Regions from separate parts of the Homo sapiens genome. Here regions 1 and 2 are each linked to region 3. The links are contacts of gene promoters, found by promoter capture Hi-C in blood cells and fetal thymus (Javierre and others, 2016). All regions are on one chromosome and are shown on one strand. The core of a region is centred on a gene start or on the middle of the fragment in contact, and the rest is flanking DNA. Distances in the headings are between cores, read along the strand shown. Region 1 overlaps DHX15 (DEAH-box helicase 15). Region 2 overlaps LOC124900682 (a long non-coding RNA gene). Region 3 holds the start of RAB28 (RAB28, member RAS oncogene family).

The links. Contacts are between HindIII fragments. The CHiCAGO score rates a contact against its expected background, and 5 or more counts as called.
Region 1: a contact is called between a fragment that was not itself captured here and the fragment with the promoter of RAB28 in region 3, in 2 of 17 cell types (total CD4 T cells and non-activated CD4 T cells). The highest score is 7.5, in total CD4 T cells.
Region 2: a contact is called between a fragment that was not itself captured here and the fragment with the promoter of RAB28 in region 3, in 3 of 17 cell types (non-activated CD4 T cells, total CD4 T cells and activated CD4 T cells). The highest score is 8.3, in non-activated CD4 T cells.

The regions. Positions count from the first base shown.
Region 1 is chr4:24,571,741-24,574,893 of GRCh38, forward strand. The region is part of intron 2 of DHX15 (DEAH-box helicase 15); the gene reads right to left. Among named protein-coding and RNA genes, the nearest start is that of DHX15, 11 kb to the right of the region's middle. The HindIII fragment of the contact is 3,537 bases long and covers 1-3,153 here.
Region 2 is chr4:24,588,090-24,591,465 of GRCh38, forward strand. It overlaps LOC124900682 (a long non-coding RNA gene), which reads right to left. Exons shown (of 2, transcript XR_007058078.1): 2 at 498-1,316. Among named protein-coding and RNA genes, the nearest start is that of DHX15, 5.2 kb to the left of the region's middle. The HindIII fragment of the contact is 1,128 bases long and covers 1,163-2,290 here.
Region 3 is chr4:13,482,806-13,486,152 of GRCh38, forward strand. It overlaps RAB28 (RAB28, member RAS oncogene family), which reads right to left and starts at 1,535. Exons shown (of 7, transcript NM_001017979.3): 1 at 1,271-1,535. The coding sequence starts at 1,345. It overlaps LOC105374495 (a long non-coding RNA gene), which reads left to right and starts at 1,644. Exons shown (of 3, transcript XR_925413.1): 1 at 1,644-2,149. RefSeq lists silencers at 1,067-1,686, 1,680-1,974, 1,937-1,996 and enhancers at 1,420-1,714, 1,510-2,417, 1,677-1,796. The HindIII fragment of the contact is 2,971 bases long and covers 770-3,347 here.

The DNA of each region.
Region 1 (3,153 bases), core at 455-2,954, about 11 Mb after region 3:
TACAGTAAAACTGATAAGGAATATTGGTGGCTGCACTATTATTACATTTTAGTTAGGTTGCTTCTGCAATTGGGGGTAACTTGTCACTAACAAATATCTGAAAGGGAGGGTAATTATGCTGATTCTCTAAAATCATATATATCTTTAAAACACTTTAAATGAACAAAAATAACTAAAGAAGTAGTATCTATCGGGTTCTGTAAATCCACAGACCTAGGTTTAAGTGGTTTTCTAGTCAGGCTATAAAGCCTTACTTACTGATATATCCTCAATTCGGCAACCCTTTTACAAAGGCAAAATGTACTTTCAAAGATCTAGAAAGTGAAATTCACTCACTGGTGAACCAAAGATATTTAAAATTAATTCAAAATTCTCAAGGCAAGAATGTTCAGATCTTTTGTTTTTTTGTTTGTTTTTTGAGATGGAATCTCACTCTGTTGACCAGGCTGGAGTGCAGTGGCATAATCTTGGCTCACTGTAACCACCAAGGTTCAAGCGATTCTCCTACTTCAGCCTCCCAAGTAGCTGGGACTACAGGCACGTGCCACCACGCCTGGCTAATTTTTTGTATTTTTAGTAGAGACAGGGTTTCACCACGTTGGGCAAGCTGGTGTCGAACTCCTGACCTCAGGTGATGCACCCGCCTCAGCCTTCCAAAGTGCTGGGATTATAGGCGTGAGCCACCATGCCTGGCCAAGAATGTTCAGATTTTTTAATTCACTCCGCTAAAATCAACAGCTTACCTCCACTTTAAAAACAAGACCAACAAGTCAATTAGCAGCTCTCAGGACCCCTGTGCACTCACTCTGAAAATGACCGAGGATGCCAAGCTACTAATAAATTTACTGTTAAGAAATTAAAACTGAAAAATTGCTAAAATATTAATTCCTAACAATAAAACTCATTCTGTTTTAACACAAAATAACGCTTTCTATAAAAATGACTACTTTTCAAACAAAAAAACTTAGCTAGAAGAGTGCGTTTCCTTGTATTTTTACAAATTCTAGGATCCCTGAAATGGTTTCAAGGACTTTCAAGAACTCCCAGGCAATAGCTGGAGAACCAGTCAGTTAATGCATCTGTTCACATTTCTAAGGAAAACAGCATTAGGAAAAGAAAGAGGTCCTGAAATATGTAGGCTACTGGTGTATTCAAGCCAGGGATCCGGCTTTTTTGTTTTTTTCTTTTAAGACGGAGTTTCACTCTGTTGCCCAGGCTGGAGTGCAGGGGCGCAATCTAGGCTTACTGCAACCTCCACCTCCAGGGTTCAAGTGATTCTCCTGCCTCAGCCTCCCAAGTAGCTGGGATTACAGGTGTGCGCCACCACGCCCAGCTGATTTCTGTATTTTTAGTAGAGATGGGGTTTCACCATATTGGCCAGGCTGGTCTCAAACCCCTGACCTCAGGTAATCTGCCCGCCTCAGCATCCCAAAGTGCCAGGATTACAGGCATGGGCCACTGTACCCAGCCAGGTCTAAGTTATTCTAAAGCCATTCCTCCTTTTCAGCTCTTTGCTTCCTCCACTTGAGGGCATCTTAAAACTGATCCTCGGTGTTCTAGTCTTCTTGTTTTACATAATATCCTGTGAAGTCTTATATGTTCTAACTTCTAATACTACCTATAATACATCAATGCCAATCCTAACTCCAGCTTTCATCTTAGAGCTAACGGTCATTTCCACCTAGTTGGTATCCCAAATTCACACATTCAAAAGCAAAGCCATTTCTCACCTTCCTCCAAAATACTTGTAATTCCTAATATCCTGACTCCAATCCATTCTTTATTTTCTATTCCCAAGGCCCTTCACAGAATCGAAACTTTTGTTATGAGCTCTTACATGGTGTATCATCAATATGTTCACTAGACAGGAGTTTTTTTAAAAAAAAATCCTCATCATTCCTCTTCAATTCAAGAGCTCTGATGGCTTCCAGTCTATACAAGATATATTAAGGCTCAACTTACAGTTCCAGTCTCACCTGCCCCACCTCCACCTTCCCAAACCCTCTGTATTCTAGCCAGAGCATACCTGCATTCCCTTAGCTCAACATGCGTCCTTGCTCACACTGTCCCTTTGGTTGACCTAGCTTCAATTCCTTCCTCATGTGCAGTTATGTGTCTACTAAGCAGCAATGTGAAATGTCTTTATTGTAGGTCTGTCAAAAGCTAAAGTCATGGCCCGGTGCAGTGGCTTGGGCCTGTAATCCCAGCACTTTGGGAGGCCCAGACAGGCCAATAACTTGAGGTCAGGATTTAGAGACCAGCCTGGCCAACAGGGTGAAACCCTGTCTCTATTAAAAATACAAAAAAAAAAAAAAAATAGCCAGGCATGGTGGTGCGCGCTTGTAGTCCCAGCTACTCAGGAGGCTGAGGCAGGAGAATCACTTGAACCCAGGAGGAGGAGGTTGCAGAAAGCCAAGATCATACCACTGCACTCCAGCTTGGGTGACAGAGCGAGACTTTGTCTCAAAAAAAAAAAAAAAAAAAAAAAGTTAAAGTCATTACTTTAGATTTTGTTTAGAGAATTTTTCTGACAAGAACAAATCACCAAAAAAAGACTGGCTTTAATGGTTTGAGTCAAAGTTTAATAAGAGCATGCTAGGAAACATTTGAATGAAATTCACTTTTTAAACTGTTTGGTTTCCCTTCAAATCCCCCAGATGTGCTGCAATCCTCAGTATCCAAGTATCTTAATTACCCCTCTAAAAGTTAAATATTAATCCAAATAATCACAAACCTCATCTTGAGTTGACCTGACCTCCTTCTACACTAACCATTAATAAACTCATCTCTGAAATGAGGCTACCCATAATCAGACCACAGAATAGCAGTATGAAATATAAAACTTTAGATATAAAGACAAAAGGTACAAAGTTTTAAATATTGAGCCCACCAAAATCCATAATCCATGTAACCCAGGACAATCCACTAAACCTAAGTTTCTCATAAACTTAAACCTCATTTTGCTCATCTGTAAAGTGGTGATGAATATCTTCCTGCAGGGTTATAGAAAAACGTAAATGAGCTAATACATGTAAAGTATACAGTGTCTGGCTTTACCCAAATATCAATTAAATAGTAAGTTCAGAGTTACAGTCTTTCTTGTAGTTTGAAAATTCTTAAAATTTCCGTAAGGTGATTTTTGAATACCCTAAC
Region 2 (3,376 bases), core at 477-2,976, about 11 Mb after region 3:
AATGTCTTATGCAGCTAACCAGCTGCAGGGTCTCAAGTCAACCTAAATTAATAAAAAATAATTGCTAATAGCAAACACATACAAAGCACTATGAGCCAGATGCTGTTCCTTACACATTTGAGCCTATTTGAGACTTACAGCAACTTCAAGTTTAGTCCAATGAATTACTCTTATTTACAGCTGAGGAAACTGTTACTCAAAGAGGCAAGTATTTTGGCCAAGATGACAGTTCTGAGATTCAGCCCAGACAGTGTGTGTGCTTAATTGCTATGTTCTGCTGCGGCTGATAAATAGATATTCTCGTTCCACTTTATTCGTCTAAGGTGTGGTTACTGAAGATAAGTTCTCCCAGTCTGACAAGATGAACATGAACTGATAAAACTTCTGCATTGTCCATGTAGAGAACTAGTTTACAGAACTCTCAGTGGACAAGTGGGGATTTGGATTATTTGAACCCAGTCCAACTCTAGAGCCGCACTATTGACCATTGTACAGTATCACTATTACCATTTATTTATTCAATCAACAAATATGTATTAAGCTCCCATGTCAGGCATTAAGTGCTGGGGAAAGAGGAAAGAAGAAAATAGCCATAGTTCTTGCCTTCATAAAACGTGGCAGAGGGAGAGAGACAGGCACTGAACAGCTAAACACATAAATAACTATGTTGTTATCACGATGATAAGTGCTGAAAAGGCCAGCTACAGACGACAGGCATTGTGAGAGCATATAACAAGTGGCCTTGATCTACATTGAGGGTTAGGGAATGCCTCTCTGAGAAAGAAACATTTAGACAAAAACCTTAAAAATAAATGCAATCCCAGCACTTTGGGAGGCCAAGGCAGGCAGATCACCTGAGGTCAGGAGTTCAAGACCAGCCTGACCAACATGGAGAAACCCCATCTCTACTAAAAATACAAAATTAGCCGGGCATAGTGGTGCATACCTGTAATCCCAGCTACTCGGGAGGCTAAGGTGGGAGAATTGCTTGAACCCAGGAGGCGGAGGTTGCGGTGAGCCAAGGTCACATCATTGCCCTCCAGCCTGGGCAACAGGAGCAAAACTCCATCTCAAAAAAAAAAAAAAAAAGAATGCAAATTGTCCAGGCAGAGAGGGCAGAAAGCATTCCAAGCAGAGGAAACAGCCTGTGCAAAGGCCCTGAAGCTTTAAAAAGTCAGGTGCGACCCACAGACAGAGAAAACAACATGGATGTGTTGAGATGAGGAATTTGTCATCTGTGATCCTGCAGATGCAAGAACAGGGCATATCATGCCCCATCTGAGGAGTCCTGCTGAGGAGGTAAGCCTTTATCCTTCCTAAAACAAGAGGAAAACAGAAATGAGATTTAAGTGGGAAAACAACATGATCACTCATGAGGATTTGCCAGGATCAATCCACCAGTCTCCCTCTTTGAATCCTCTTTAGCAACAAAATGCTTACAAATTTGAAAGAATTTTCAGTACTATTTTTAATCACCTTATCCTCTCTCTAGTAAGAGACAGAAATAGTTACAAACTATAGTGGTGCTATGGCTTGCCATCAAAATCTCACTTTCATAATGAGACATCCCTCAGCTCTGGGAGTGCTTGCCACCTGCACACGATCCTCGTGTCAGCCCTCTTCAGAAACTTCCATGGCTAAAGAAAGCTGCCATGCCCAGGGGCAGCCTGAATACATTCTACAGGTATAAAGGCTTGGCCTGTCTACCAACTTAGGACAACTGTGAGCTTCAGAGCATCTGAACCCTCTGTGGGATCAGCTGAAGTCTTTGTTATAATGGCATCTGATGTACCCCAATGCAATTTGGCCAGTAACAATCCAGAGTTACCTCCAATCCCACAAGTTAAGGCCACAGTCCCAAGCAAGACTGAAGATGTCCCCACTCCAGACACCATCCATAAGTTCAGGGGTCTGCAGGCCACCAGCACTCCGGCCCAACTGGCTACAAATTCAGAGTTTCTCACAATTCCATCATATTTGATAATTTACTAGAATAACTTATAAAACTCAGGAAAGCACTATACTTATGGTTGCTGTTTTATTATAAAGGAAACAAATCAGAGCGTCTGTGTCCTCTCCCCATGGAATTAGAACATGTGACCCTCCCTCACATCCATGTCCTTACAAACTAGGATGTTCCACTGAGCTTCAGTGTCTGCAGTTTTTATTGGGGTTTCATTATGTAGCCATGATTGATTGACTGAATCATTGGCTCCATGATTCAACTCAATTTCCAGCCTCCTTTCCCTGCTTAAAGGTCAAGAGATTGGGCTGATAACATGTGGCTCAAAGCTTCAACCCTTTAATCACATGGTTGGTCTTTCTGGGATGACCAGTTCCCATCCTGAGTTATCTCCTTAGCACTAATTCAGATGTCGTCCAAGGGCCCAACATAAAGAGAGTAACTCTTTAGGGAATAAAGGGAATACATAAACCTAAAGAGAATAAAGGGAATACATAAAGAGAATAAAGGGAATATATAAACCAGGATACACAAACCAGGAAGTCACTGCATATTCACTAAAGAGAGCAACAAAGATACTCTTATGACTTGGGAGACCCCAAGGATTTAAAATGAACCAATCCCGTGAACCAGGGATAAAGGCCAGTCAAATTCATTGTCATGCAACAGCATCACAGTCAACTTTTCCTTATCTGATTCTACTTTTATCTTTTCTTTCCACTGATATTGATCCTAAATGTACTTCTTAATAAACATTCTAAATGCTAATCTTTGCCTCAGAGTCTAGTTTTCATGGAAGCCGACCTAAAAGATTTGGTGCCAGAAGTGGTGCCAGAAAGAAAGCAGACATTATGATTGGATTTTGGAGTTGGTCACCCATTGCTGGCTGGCAATGAATCTGTGGTGGAGGTAGGACACAAGGAAGCAGGGCAATTGTTAAAACTTTCACCTGTAGCTTACTGGGAAAAAAGCATGTGGTGTACTGCAAAAGGCATGCAGTTCTCACATATGGGGGAACTGGTAACTATAAGCTCCCTAGAATTTGATGGCTATTGCTAAGTAGAATTAATATTTTGGGGAGAGATAATGAAAGGCTGGAAGTTATTTATCTGCAATTCAAAACTAAGCATGAAAACCAGAAATCCTATGAGGGAGCATATAAAAAGGTTTTCATTTCTTGCAGTGGAAAGGCAGAGAAAACTGAAAGGCAGTTCCAGGACTTAAACATAATAGTAGCAGAAAATTAAGTGGAAACTTCCAAAGAAGATTAAACTCTCCACTTAGGCAATTGTGATATACCAAGGTTAGGACCCTGGATGGGAAATAGTGGGACTCTGACACATGGGTGGGGACATCTGGGTTGATGTACTTGAAAAATTTTGAATCCCTAGATTCCCCTCAACCCACTGAGTC
Region 3 (3,347 bases), core at 285-2,784:
CATATAAAATTTTACATCTTTCCCAGGTGACCTCGAAACTCAAATGTCAGAACCAAAGGCAGAAGCAGGTATCTGGGCAGTGCCAACTGTCAGGGAGGATGCAAAGAGAAGTCGTCACCAGAGAAACCAGGGTCCGAAATGCAACCAGCAACAGGGAAATGTGAAGCCTTAAACAGGAAATAAAAGCCTGGGTTTCTTTAGACTATGGTTGGGATAAGGAAGGGGAGTACAGGGGTGATAAACTTTAGCAATATTCCCAGAAAGTGTTGGCGCCTTTGACAGAAGCATGGGAAAGAAGGCATCCGGGTAGAGGCTCTTCACTATTTGCTGGTGGAGGGATCATAGACCCCTCTGAGATCTTATGGACCCTCTCCCCAGAGCACGTACCGGGCAGTATTTACTCCATTTCAGGAGTTCCACAGCCTTGGGGTAGGAGCCCCTGCCTAGGAGATAATAAGACTGACGCTGCCTGATATTCTCACGCCCGCATTCATTCATTCGAACAGGGGATCCCTTTTGTCACGCAAGCAGCTCTACCCTCAGCATCCTACCCGTAACAGGAGCTCCATAAACACTTGTTGACTGACTGCTTGTATCGAGTGCTGAGCTGGAAACAGAGGTGATGAACAGGTATGATATTAAAATAGCAACTAGAGTGTACTGAGTGGACACTGTGCTCTAAAGGTTTTATGTGTATTTTCACATTTAATATGTATTTTCACATTTCTCCCTTTGCGGCGGCCCTTTTCAATACCCATCTTACAGATGAAGCTTAAACTGATTAGCAATTTGCCCTCCAATGACCCGACGACTAAGTGGCAGAGCCCCAATTCTCACCCGGGGAATACTGATTCCAGAGCTACGCTCCTGGGAGCTCACGATGCAGTAGAAGCATCAGAAACGGTAAAGGGGGTGGGAGGGGAGGAGTAAGTGTGACCCAGACTACAAGTAAGAGGAGCTAAGATGCCTTGGCAAATCCCTGCCAGTCCTGAGAGGCGGGAAGCTGAAAGGCTGGCCCGAGTCTTGCAGGAGTTCGCAATCCAGGCGGGGAGTTAGGAAGTGACTCTTTTTTAAGGGGGAGCTGGACAGCTCTCGTCGGCCTTCACCAAGCGCCCACTTCGTGTCCGGCCTCAGGCCACACAACCAGAAGGGCCCGGGCCTAGAAGCCCGAGGGCTCGGGGTAACGAGGCGACGCCGGGCGGCGGGGAGGAGGCCGGGGACCGCCGGGGTTCCTGCAGGCCTGGGACGGCGGGCCTGCTCGAGGACTGACCTTCCCGGAGGCGCCGTCCCCCAGCACGACGATTTTCAGTTGCCGGTCCTGGCTCTCCTCCTCAGAGTCCGACATGGTGTCCCGGGAACCAGGCCCGCCCCTCGAGGTGGGGGGGGAAGGGAAGGATGAAGGCTCCGGGGGCGGGGGAGAGGAGGAAGGGAGGTAGTTGCGGCAGGACCCCCGCCCCGGTGTCTCCGCGCCGGCAGGAGGTATTCGAGGAGAATCACTCGGCAAGCGCCATCTTGCCCACCTCCCCGCCCTCTGCGCGCGGCCCCGCCCCCTACGCGCACGTCGGGCGCGCGCCCCCGCCTCAGAGCCAACCCGCGCCGACCGGCGGCCCCGCCTGACGAGCCGAACCACTCGCGGCCCTGGACTGGTGTGGGGGACATTCCGGCGGGAGAGGCGAGGCGCTGCGTTTCCCTTCAGGAGACAGTTGGCTAGAAGAAGAAAAGAAGTGTTCGTTCAAATTAAGGAGAGAAAACGGGAGCAGAGCAGCTTTCAGGCGTTCCATCAAATTCCCTTTTCTCCTTCCCTCTTGAGAAAGTCTCTGAAGGGAATGGTTCAGCCTGACGGGGTGGAGCAGTGACGCCCGGGCTACGCGCCAGGGTTGCCTGGCAGCCAGGAGTTCGAGGACCGGCGGCGGGGCGGGGCCTGTCTCCGGGCACCCGGGACGCCCGTAGCCTGGCGGAGAGCGCCAGAGAGGGCCCCTGAAAAACCGGACCAGGGAAGAGGGTACCTCGGGGCGGATGAGGGGACAGCTGCTAAGGGCCGAGGCTGCTGGGAAGCCTCAGTAGCGGCCGTGAATACAGTGGAGCTCCGGCGCTGCTTATTTCGGCCTAACTCTTGGTTTCCTCATCTGAACAACCCCAGGCTCCCATGGTTCGTTCATCAGACGCTACTGATCGCCAACCTCCTGGCACCCCATCTTTACCCTAAGGCAGCAGTTCTCATAAAGTGTGGTCTAGGGACCTCTGGAAATCCCGATGACCTCAGAACAATTTTCATAATAATACGGACACCTTGTCTGTCTTTCTCACGTTCCTTCTCTCACTAGTATACCGTTTCCTGGAGGATACGCTTTGTGTACGACGTCATCACTGGCAGCTAAGGGAGCTTGCGTTTGTTGTTTTTAAACATTTCTCAGTTTTCATTTCAATGCAGTAGTGATAGGTGTAACCCACATAAACATAAGCTCTTTGGAGGTCACAGTAATTCTTTAACATTATAGAGAGGCCCTGAGTCCAAAAAATTTAAGAACTGCTGCCCTGGATAATCTCAGTCCAGGAGCGTTAGGTAAACGGCATAAATGAAATTTACAATTTAGTGAGGTAAATTCAAAAATAATAATGCTGTCCTGCTATGGTTGTTTCATTGTTAATCACTTAAAATTTATTGTTACCTTTACTACTATTAGGAATTATGAAGTATAATTATCCCCATTTTGCAGATGAAGTATCTTAAGTTAACAAAATGCTTAGCCCAGAGGCAGTAGTCTTGGAGACCATATGGGCATTAGAACAGGAAAGCAGAACAGTGTAAAGAAATGCCCAGACCTAGAGGCATCACTGGAGTTTAATCTCATGTTTACTAGATATGTGTCCTCGAGCCTCAGTTAGTTCACCTGTAGAACAGACTACTGCCTTTGTGTAGGTTTGAAAATTAAATGAAATAATCGGCATAAAGTAGATAGCACAATGCCTGGTGTGTAGTAAGCACTCAATATTAACCAGTGTAACTATCACCCTCATCATCATCATAATTAGATGATGGTCCGTGTTGGAAGTGTCACTACTTTCTAGCCAATTTACCTTATACAAGTTTCTTATGTAGAGCCTCAGTCTCTTCATCTGCAGAGAGGGCTGGCCCACAATTATAGGTACCCAGTTAAGTATTAGTACCCAATTCTTTCCCCAATCCCGCACCACCATTGCCACCACCAATTTTCTATTCACCAGATTTATTCATAAGAATTAGAAGAAAGAGGATATGTACTTGTTAGTGAGAAGAATCTACTTCCAGTGAGGACAGACTTAACCACTTCTTGTCCATGAGGGCAGTTAAAATGCAAGAAAATTTC